2 separate regions of the Homo sapiens genome follow, and region 1 is linked to region 2. The links are contacts of gene promoters, found by promoter capture Hi-C in blood cells and fetal thymus (Javierre and others, 2016). All regions are on one chromosome and are shown on one strand. Each heading gives the region's core, a stretch centred on a gene start or on the middle of the fragment in contact. The rest is flanking DNA. Distances are from core to core; before and after follow the strand shown.

The links. Contacts are between HindIII fragments. The CHiCAGO score rates a contact against its expected background, and 5 or more counts as called.
Region 1: a contact is called between a fragment that was not itself captured here and the fragment with the promoter of LIMD2 in region 2, in 1 of 17 cell types (naive CD8 T cells). The highest score is 5.8, in naive CD8 T cells.

Annotation. Positions count from the first base shown.
Region 1 is chr17:64,497,689-64,502,906 of GRCh38, forward strand. It overlaps DDX5 (DEAD-box helicase 5), which reads right to left. Exons shown (of 13, transcript NM_004396.5): 9 at 4,751-4,861; 10 at 4,474-4,535; 11 at 4,322-4,381; 12 at 2,861-3,085; 13 at 566-2,638. The coding sequence ends at 2,235. MIR3064 (microRNA 3064) reads right to left here and starts at 3,151; the gene lies at 3,086-3,151. It overlaps MIR5047 (microRNA 5047), which reads right to left and starts at 3,625; the gene lies at 3,526-3,625. The HindIII fragment of the contact is 275 bases long and covers 1,411-1,685 here.
Region 2 is chr17:63,698,848-63,703,950 of GRCh38, forward strand. It overlaps LIMD2 (LIM domain containing 2), which reads right to left and starts at 1,278. Exons shown (of 5, transcript NM_030576.4): 1 at 1,185-1,278; 2 at 410-501; 3 at 181-222; 4 at 1-91. The coding sequence starts at 451. LOC729683 (a long non-coding RNA gene) reads left to right here and starts at 1,491. Exons shown (of 1, transcript NR_046273.1): 1 at 1,491-3,838. It overlaps STRADA (STE20 related adaptor alpha), which reads right to left. Exons shown (of 13, transcript NM_001003787.4): 13 at 3,985-4,904. The coding sequence ends at 4,752. RefSeq lists silencers at 157-386, 477-936, 1,027-1,986, 3,177-3,256 and enhancers at 1,691-2,276, 2,277-2,861, 2,657-2,756. The HindIII fragment of the contact is 14,945 bases long and covers 1-2,639 here.

The sequences.
Region 1 (5,218 bases), core at 298-2,797, 800 kb after region 2:
TCCTGGTGTCAGAGAAAACCACGTACGTGCAATTTCTTCCAGGGGCCCCTTCTATGGGTTCATCAAAACAATGAGACTTGTGACTGTTATTATTAAGAGACTCATGATTAAATTGCAGGTTTCTGATTTTGCAGTTTCTATTTAAATAGGTCGAGACCTTAAGACCTACCCAGAAAGTGGAAAAGTGGTATACCCAGACTGAGGAAGTTTGATTCCAAAGTCCATGATTTCTTATACCAGCCTCAGTTACGAAAACCTTTAAAGAGGTTCAGGGAAAAAGGAACAATCTACATTTCACTGTGAGACTACCAAACTACTACCTGATTAAGAGGGGTAACAGCTTAGCAATTGAGTTAATGTAATTCAGGAGTAAAGTTTTATCATTAGTAAAGTGCTGTACCAGGTTCAGGAAATAGTTCTTCTTTACAAGTGTATACAAGGGTTTAAAAAAAGGCCAGCTAGATAGTAATTAACTGCAAAGCTGGGTACTACTGCCAGGTGTTTTCCACATTCAGGAACTCACACCAGGTAAAAGGCCTATACGCAAATAAATAAAAAGAGAGAATGGGGAGAAAAATCACATTTATTAGTTAAGACGACCACAGGCTGGACACAACACACATGCTAAAAAGTGGACTGTCTTTTAAAACTTCCAAGGTAAATAGGTAAATGTTTTCCACAGCCCAACAATCATTTCAGTGTTTACAAATTAAAAGGCCCACGGTTAAGACATTAAACAGTAAAATATGTAATAAATGCTCCAACCTACCCTCTCCCCCGAAAGCTGCTTCTAAGTTTAAAACCATGAATTTGACTAACCATGCCATTGAAAACCATCCAGGTTACTACAGGCTGAATTAGTTTTCAATGTCTAAGTCCTAGAAATATCACTCCCTATCCCAGCCCTAGCAAATTCTAACTTTACATTTGACATAAGGCATTAACATCAATTAAAGCCTCAGTTTAATAATCAGAATTTAAATGAAGTCTCCTGAAGACCTCTCTTCTGGCAAAAAAAAACACGTATCAGACTCTGGGAAAACATTCAGACCCACTTCTAGCTATTACTGAAATAAATGATTAGAAAGTTACGTTGGTGAGCCGAAGTTAAACCTAAAGCTATCCCCTGGATCTTTCTAGCAATAAACCCATGTTGAACCTACCATGAAAACTTTCATTCACTGTGCTTTTGGTTACGTTGCCTCCTGATTAGTCATTAATTTTAATGAGGTTTTTTCCTTGTGTTGAGTATGAATAGACCTTACAGTTTGAGGATCTCTAGAATTCCCTGAATTATTGGAAAGACATTCATGACTCCCAGTGTGACTAGTTAAGAGCCCCAGGGAGCCTGTGAAGACTAGAATCTACAAGTAACCTGCACTAAGAACGAAATTCAGTAAAGGAGACTCAAGCTTAGCTCCTGGCCATCTTAAAGGGCTAATGTATGTCTTTCACAGGTTTGTTCAACATTTCAGTAATTCACAGTATAGCCAAGAGCATGAGTATAAGTCTCTTGAAAAAGCCAGTTATTTGGAGCTTTTTAAATTATAAACTTTGAAAAAGTCACCCACGTTCTCACACTATATAGATGACTTTGTATCTATTTTACTATTTTCTCATTTAACCATACTAGCAAATAAGGAAAAAGGCTATTAAATGACTCCCCTGATGCTGGAAGCTGACAAAGCTTTTATGCAATTTAGCCTGTAACTAAAAATTCACCTGTATCAATTCATTCTGACTCCTGCAATATGAATAGCTCATTATAAAGAAGGGCCTTCTGATTCCCCCTGCCTCCCAAATTAAATAAAAAGGAACAGTCATTTGTTTTCATGGAAAAAAAAAACCAAACAAAAACAAAAAAAAAACCAGACCATCTTAAGCAAAGTTTTACATGACATTATATAAAATAAAGTACAATTTCCACTTAATTCAGTCTTCAAATATTTTTTATTGGAAGGCCATGCATTGCCTTCATTTATTGTATTTCAAATCACTGTACATTTACTTTTGTGAAAACACTGCCTGCATTTTCTAGTACAAAAAAAACCTAAAAATTGTTTCAGGAATGTAGAGAAATATCCAACTTAAATAGCGAAAAAGTGCACCATAATTACTGCTGCACTGCAGTCATTTCTGCAATTCCCATGTTTCTTAAATAACTATCTTGTCAGATAACACACAATATAAAGAGCAATTATGAAAAACAGACATTTACATATACTTCTAAAGTCTTATTGGGAATATCCTGTTGGCATTGGATAACCAATCATAGGTGCAGCTGCAGTAGCAGGATATGCATATGCCTGTTGGTTCATACCATTGTGCATATTTGGAACATTACTTCCGTATTGCTGAGTGCTATCATAACCATTCTGGTAAGTCCCTGTTGGATTACCAGTCCTAAAACTGGTCTGTATACCAGCAGACACAAAATTACTTCCAAAGCTCCCATTGGTGTAATTTGCAGCACTGTAAACACCATTCTGAGTTTTTGCCCCAAAATCTCTTTTAAGCAGGCTAGAGTAACCTCTGTCATAATTTTCCCTGTCTCTAAAGGTATTAAATCCACCCCTTTTGCCCGCAGAGTATCTGTCCCGACGGTCATCCTTCATGCCTCCTCTACCCCTGGAACGACCTGTCAAGAAAACAATTGCAAATTGATCAATTATGTCTATGACACAAATCATTGTGGACAGAAAGAAACAGATCTATTCATGGTAGGCGTGAAATGTTTTTACAATTTTTCAGCTTAAGTTTTCACATTCAAGGTTTTACTCACCCTCCAATACCATTTAAATGGATTTGTAGACAACGATGTGACTCGTAACTACCAACATTTCCTATCAGTCATCCTTACCTGAACCTCTGTCTTCGACCAACTGAAGCAACTTGGGATTAATTGCTTGATTAGCTTCACGAAGCACAGAGATAAGGTCGCTCACTTGCTTTATGTTATTAGGTGTAAAGAAAGTGTATGCTGTGCCTGTTTTGGTACTGCGAGCAGTTCTTCCAATTCGATGAATATAATCCTCTGAGGAGTTAGGGTAGTCATAATTGATGACAAATTTCACATCTTCCACATCTGTAAGGTGTTGCAGTGTGGCAAAATAGCAATGTACGGAGTTTTGCACACCACAACAGCCAGACCAAAAATAAAAAGTTAGACAATTGTATTCCCAAGAAGGTACGGGCTGCAAAAAATACAGTTAAAATGGTTATCCATTTCCTGTAGGAATACCATTGAGGTTGAAAAAAGAAAAAAAAGCACATGTCATCTGTATAATTCATCACCCACCCAGTGACAGACCCTGTCAAAAGGAATGTGTGTTCCCTAAGCACATTCCCAAATCAGCAAGTTCCCTTACAGATCATCAAGTGACATCTGAATGCTTCTGCGCAGTAGGGCCACTTAAAGTTTCACAGCAACCTCTTCATGTGCTCATTTTGAGGACCTTGAAACAAAAAAATGTACAAGGTCCTTTGCATTACACATTCATCAGAAGTTCAAAATTCTGGCCACACTGCTTGTCTTGCCAAGACCTTACAACCGCAGCTGCAAGAAAACATACCTGTCCCCCAAAAGTTGTTTTTATGCACTGTGTCTCGTCTAGGCAAGCGCTTCCAAGAAGCCAGGATTCACTTGAGAATGTGTCTCTCTCTGGCAGGTCTCGACATGACGACTACTGTGTAGGTGAGGGAGGAACTTTCAAAGCACTTTCTTTTCCCACTTACTATGTGTGAGAAGTTGCTCCTGCTCTAGATCTCATGTGCCAGTACTCACCAATTTGTAAAAGGCTTAGTACCTTTTAAAGCTGCTCTCTCCATTTCAAACTTGAACAAAAATTTCATTGAACATTGAAGTTTGGAACTACTTCTTCGACATTTCAGCAAACTCACTGAAACTCAAAGACCCACAGATCACAGTGAACAGTTTGAAACAAGGCTGTACCATGGCAGTCATGCAAAGCATGGGACAGAAGAAATACCACGGCAGTGAACTGTGAGGATAACTTCCATTTTTTCCCTCGGAGAGAACAGTTTACGGGGCAGAGGTGATATGTTCTGCCTTTTGAAGATTACTGGCACACGTTCAGCTTTTTCACCTCTCTAATCGACTGGAAGCAGCCAGCCGATCACTAGTCCTCCATCCCCCTCGAGTCCTCCGATTGTCATGCCTAGGCCTTGCCACAAAGACAGCACCTTTATGTGAAAAAAAACTTAGAAAAAATGCAGGTTAAAGAAAGCAATAAACTTTCTTTAAAAAAGTTAAATGGAGATCTTCTGGGAAACCAAGCCATGAATGCGAGTTTGTACTAACCTAGCCCTCTGGAGGCCACATCTGTAGCAATCAGAATAGGAGCTTTTCCATGTTTGAATTCTACAAAGGAAGGCATATACATGATCAATTATCTGAGCAGAATTCTAGCTAGGTTAAGTAAGGGGGAAAAATACTTCATTTGAAATATTTACCATTTAGAACCCAGTCACGCTCTTGTTGACTCTTGTCACCATGGATACCCATGGCAGGCCACCTAAGTTAAAAGACAAGTTGTGTTATTAAACTCACATTGAAAACCTCAGACTCCAGTGCTTGACCACTTTTGGTCACAGATCTCTTTAATTTCGCCAGAAATGAAAAAGTTAAATTCACTATCAGATATGAAAAAAATCCACTGCTCGTGATCCAAGTTTGCCCTTTCCTAAGCTGTTTTAATCAATCTGCTTCAATGGAGGAGCTCACACATACCCATCTCTCCTCATTTTTCTGGTAAGCTCATCACATCTTCTTTTGGTTTCCACAAAAACAATGGTTTTATTCTCCTTCTCACTCATGATCTCTTCCATTAGACGAATAAGTCTAATAATAGGAGAGAGAAAGGAAAAATCCTGAGTTTTAAAAGACCATTGCTAGGGCCACACATTTATGGTCAGCAAAACATTAAGTTCAATTTACATGGCTGGAAGTCAAAGAGGAAACGCCTGCTAATCCACTTATCGAGCAGTTCGACCCTTGGTCCTTAAGTCAACCAGGGGACACATGAATTCCTTCTATAGGAAAGCTATAAATGGTGACAGCCATTATTTGAAGGATTCAAGAAATTTTCAGGATTAGTAGGCTAACTAAATGAAATCACACCAACTGAAATAACCTAAAACAACTCACCAAACAATGATCCCTCAATTTTACAGCAAAGTTGTTAGGAAGCAAATATAA
Region 2 (5,103 bases), core at 28-2,527:
TGAGCTTGTCGGCCACCAGCCGCTCCATGGGGTACACGGTCTTCTGGCAGGCGGCGCAGGTCTCCTTCACCTGGGCCCGCAGGCTGAAGGACTGTGCGGGAAGCTCAGCCAGGTGCTGCCCCAGTGCTCATCCCGCTCCCTCACACCCCTCCTCCCGCACACCCGGCCCCAGGCCCCTACCTTGGAGCGCTGCACCGTGCTGCTGCCGCCGCCTTTGGCGTCCTGAGGGAGAGGGGCGGTCAGGGCAGGGGCAGCTCCGGGAGGCCCTGGATCAGGGCTGCAGCCATCAGCCCAAGGCCCAGGGGCGCGCCGCAGGGCACAAAGGGGGCCGGCAAACTCTGATGCCTCTCCCCTTCACCCCAGGCCAGGCTCCTGTCCGGGGGGCCCTCCCACCCAGCCGGGCACTTACATGAGAGGGGGTGGCCTGGGCGGCTCCTGCAGCCTGGAACATGGCTCGTTGGAGGTGGAAGCCTCGGGTGGAGAAGCGGCACCCGCTGGGTTCTGCAAGGGGAAGTCAGTCGGGAGGGCCCCGCCAGCCCGGCCCCAGCCTGCAGGGTGGGGGGTGTTGACAGGCAGGGGCTGGGGGGATTGCGGTTGGGACTTTCCCTAAGTCATTTCCTGTTGCTCTTGGTCTTGCCACTTCCGCCCCTCACCCACCTCCCCCACCCCTGCTCCCCAGGGGCCGGGGTCCCGAGTGGCACCGTCCCTCGGAAGAACAAAGTTAGCGGGAGCGGAGGGGCCGGGGGCTCCCGCGCAGCCGCCGTGTGCGTCCCGCGGGCTGGGACCGCTTGGGGTGAGGGGAGGTCGGGGCCGGCGGGGCCGCGATGAGAAGCCGCTGCCCCGACCTGACCCCGGCCCTCGCTGCCCTGCGCCGCGCCCGGGCGTCCAGGCCTAGGCTGCGCAGCCCCTGGACAGCGCCCGAGGTCCCCGCCCGCCCCGCCCCTCGGCCCCCGACCTGGCCCCGCGAGGACCGGACCCCAGACCCCGACGCCGCGAGCCCCGCCAGCGGGTCTCGGCTCCGCCCAGCCGGGGGCCGGCCCTGAAACGAGGACTCGAGCCTGTGCGCCCCGGGCGAGAGCGGCTCGCAGACTCGCCGGGACCCCACGGGCGGCCCTCACCCCACACCCCTCGGCGCCTCTCCCGGTTCCGGAGCCGGACGCGGCCCCTCCCCCCGCGGCTCTCACCAGGCCCGGCCTGGGCCGCGGGGCGGGATCGGTCTCCGGGGGCGCACGGGTACGAGGAGGGCGCGGGCGCGAGCTGCTGCCGCTACCAGTGGTCCCCGAGCCACCGCCGCCGCCACCGCCTTATCGCTGCACCGCCCCCGCCGGCCCCCGCCCCGCGCCCGCCCATTGGCTCCGCCGCGCCCGGAGCCGCCTTCGGGGCCCCGGCGCCGCCGCCGACCCCCCTCCGCGCTTTGTCTTCCCCTCGCCGCCGTCCCCGCCTTTGTCTGTCCCCCGCCCCGGCTCCGCGCTCCCGGCTCCGCAGCGCCCCGCGGGCCTCGCGCTCGCAGGCCTCGGGTACCGGCCGCGCCGTCTGCCCATCCCGACGGCGGCCCGGCGTGGGGAAGCAACGGTGGCAGGGACAGGATGGAAGGGCCGCGCTCCGCATCCTACTGGGAGGGGACGAGTTCAGGCTGCGGCGGCTGCGGTCGCGGGACACTGGGCGCTCCCGGCCTGGCTCCGGGATAACCGGGCGGGGCCTGGGCCATTCACTGCCTCGGTTTCCCCCGGTTGGCCTCGCGCGTAGGCGCCGGCGCCCCCATCCCCGCCCAGAGCTGTGGGGCCGCAGAGACCCAGCCGGGGCGACCCCGGAGCCTGGCCCGGGGTCCCTCGGGCGGCCGAGTCCTCCCGCCGCCAGGGGCCGCCCCCGCCCCTTTGCGGCCCACGAGGCTGGCGGCGGCGTCCGGGCACGCGGTCTCCAGGCCCGGCCGCGAGGCTGCGGGGAGGAGCCTGCACGAGGGCCCGGCAGCCCCGGCAGCCCCCCCAGCCCTCGGCGCCTCTGCAACCCTGCGACGGGCTGGGGAGGCCGGTATGCGTGGTTCCCGGAGCACCCGTCCCCCGAGGCTCCACGTACTCAAGCGTTTCTGGGGCGGAATTCTGTGGGCAGCAACGGGGGCCCCCTCTCCAACAAGCGCACCTCATTTCTCACGTGGGAGCCGCGGCCCAGAGAGCTGAGGTGACAGAGCTTGGGCCGCAGAGCTGCTCCCTCCCTGCAGCCGCACAGCAGGCCGGAGGCACAGCCGGCGAGAGACGGCCACTCGCTTTGGAGCGGCGGCGAGGCCGGCGCCTTCCCGGGCACCAGGGACTGCGTGGCTTGGCCGGAAATCAGGCTAGAAGCAGCTCCGGGAAGCACAGCCCTTAGCCCAGCGCCTTCCCACACTGTGGCAGGAATAGCACTGGCGGCCCACGCGCTTGTCAGGGAACAGAACAGCTCTCGCCCGACGCCTGGCAGGGGAGCAGGGAGGCTGCAGCTTCCCCAGCGACCAGCTGTTTCCCAGGCTGGCGGACTCCACGGACCGGCTCCGCGTCTCCTCTCCAGCCTTCTGTTCTCTCTAGAGGAAGATCTGCGTTTTGTCTGCACTGTGGGCCGACTCTCTAGTGGGGAGCGTCAGACCCTCTAAAGTGGCTGCCTCTCGGGAAAGCTTCCACACCTGTCATCAGATTCTCCAAAGGGGCTGTTTGATGCAAGAAACGGGAAGCCCCGGGGGTACTAGGAGCAGGGCTTGCTGCCATTGGGCATGGTGAGGCCCCGGCACCCTGCCCAGGACGGGCCTGTGGGCTGAGCTGCAGATGGGCATTGAGGATGCCCCAACAGCAAGGTGCAGAAGGCATCCAGAAGCAAAGGAAACTGATGACCAGCGTCAAAAACAAACAAAAAAAGGGAACTTGGCTCGGCGGTGGCTCACGCCTGTAGTCCCAGCACTTTGGGAGGCAGAGACAGGTGGATCACGAGGTCAGAAGTCCAAGACCAGCCTGGCCAACATGGTGAAATCCCGTCTCTACTAAAAATACAAAAATTATCCAGGCGTGGTGGTGTGTGCCTGTAATCCTAGCTACTCGGGAGGCTGAGGCAGAAGAATCGCTTGAACCCGGGAGGTGGAGCCTACAGTGAGTCAACATGAAGCCAGTGCACGCCAGCCTGGGCGACAGACTCTGTGTTTGTGTGTGTGTGGGGGGGGGAGGGCGGGGCGAGGCGAAGGGAACTTGAGGTTTAAAGCAGGGGGAGGAGGGCCGGAAATGCTCCCCGCCGCCCCCGACACTCACTCGCCCCAGGCCCCATCCTAGCCCAGGGTCAGTGTCATTCCCTTCACCTTAGCCTCTCACTGCCCAAAGAGGCTTACTTTTCTTCTTTAAACTGCTGTTAAAATTTGGGAGGAAACGGAAAGCAAGGGCACCTGATGGTTCAGTGCAGCTTCAGGTTAGAGGGGCATTTGAGGTGCCTGAGCTGGGGGAGGGCCTTCCCCCTGAGGGACTGGGAGAAGGGTAAGCCATGTGCCCTGGAAGCACTGCAGGGAGCCTCAGATTTGCACCCCCTGGCTCACACTCGCTGGCGCCAGCCAGCATGGCAGGGATGGGCGGGGCTGGTTCTTAGGTTTCCTGCTCTTTGGGTGCTAGCACCCAGGGTAAGGAGACACCCATGTCCGGTTGCAAGACAAACCCTTCTACCTCCTTTCCTGCCAAAGGCCACCAGCATCCTCTGCCTCAATCTCAATCTTTGGAACTTTTTAGCTCCAAAGTGGTTTGATGACCACAGGCTAAAATTCATAGTCTTAAAATTTTAGATAGTTAAGAGACAGATCTGTTACAGGTTTTCAAATAAACTGGTCTATCTAGTGTAAGAGGTCACTGCTGAGCTTCAGTGAGCACCCATGGGCCTGCTCTTGGATGGTGGGACAGCTCTCACCTGGGGCAGCACGGCCATCCCTGCAAGCACACACACCAGGAAGCAGCCTGTAGCCCCTGAGCTGACGCAGACACAATGCCATTCTCCAGCAGCGTCTCTGAAAATTTTAATTTGTTCTGACAACGAAACTAACACAGCATAAGGACTTAAGCCCTCAAGCTAGGCAAGACACTGATGGCCCTTGGAGAAAGCACCAGGGCAGCTGGCAGGAGGCGCTAAGATGGATTCTTGGTGGGAAAGGAATGAGGCACACACATAAACCGTGGGAAAGACTTAGGTGTCAGGGCCCAAGCCAGAAGAGGGATAAGGATGGACTGTTCCAGCCTTAGTCTGTGCTTAAAAAGACAGAAATGCCCTTCTCTGGAATTATGAGGGAGAGGTCTGAGGGAAGGGAGGCAGGCAGCTTACTACTTGCCCTTTCACTGACCTATAGCATCTGAGGCATCTGAGAGCAAAGTTAAATAGAATGAGGCTGGTCGCAAGCACTGGGAAGAGGTGGCGGTCCTCGGGTTTAAGGAGCCAAACCCTGGGCTTGGAATTCAGCTCCCAGGGCCAGAGCAGCATCTCTCTTCTGCGGAGGAGGTCACCTGAGCTCACAGGACTGGGAATGTCGGCTTTGGACCCTCCTGATCCCTGGTTGTTGAGATTCCCTTGTGTCTCAAAAGCCTTGGAGCAGTGAAGTGTCTCTCCAGGATTTTCTTTCCCAATCAGTCAGCAGTCAACTTTCCTGGAAGAATGTCCTTTCTACCCAATCTGCCCAGGAGGGCGGGAATGTGGCCGGCCCTCAGGAAGGGCCTCTGGGTGGCCTCTGCATCCCTGGCTGGAGAATGCGCACAGTTTGCAGAGGCTCAGAACTCCCAATCGTCCACCTCCAGCTCTTCCAGGTTTGTTACCAGGCCAAAGATTCCACTGTGGTCCTGAGACTGGCTGCCCTCAAAATTGGTGATGGGGGTGACAGGACGAAGCAATTCGGGCAAAGCCTCTGAGGCACGTCGCTTGATCTGGGGGAGAAGAGAGAGGTGGGTGACAGATCCTGTTGCTCTGGGTCCCAGGACACCATGGGGCAAGGAACCATGGCCTGGTGGCAGACGGGCTGTCGGAGCCAACTCCATGAGAGGAAGGAGCAGTGTCTTTCAGGGGCTTCGGAAGCGGGGTAGTTTCTCTCATTCAAAGGGAGGGGAGAGAAAGCTAAAGGGATTG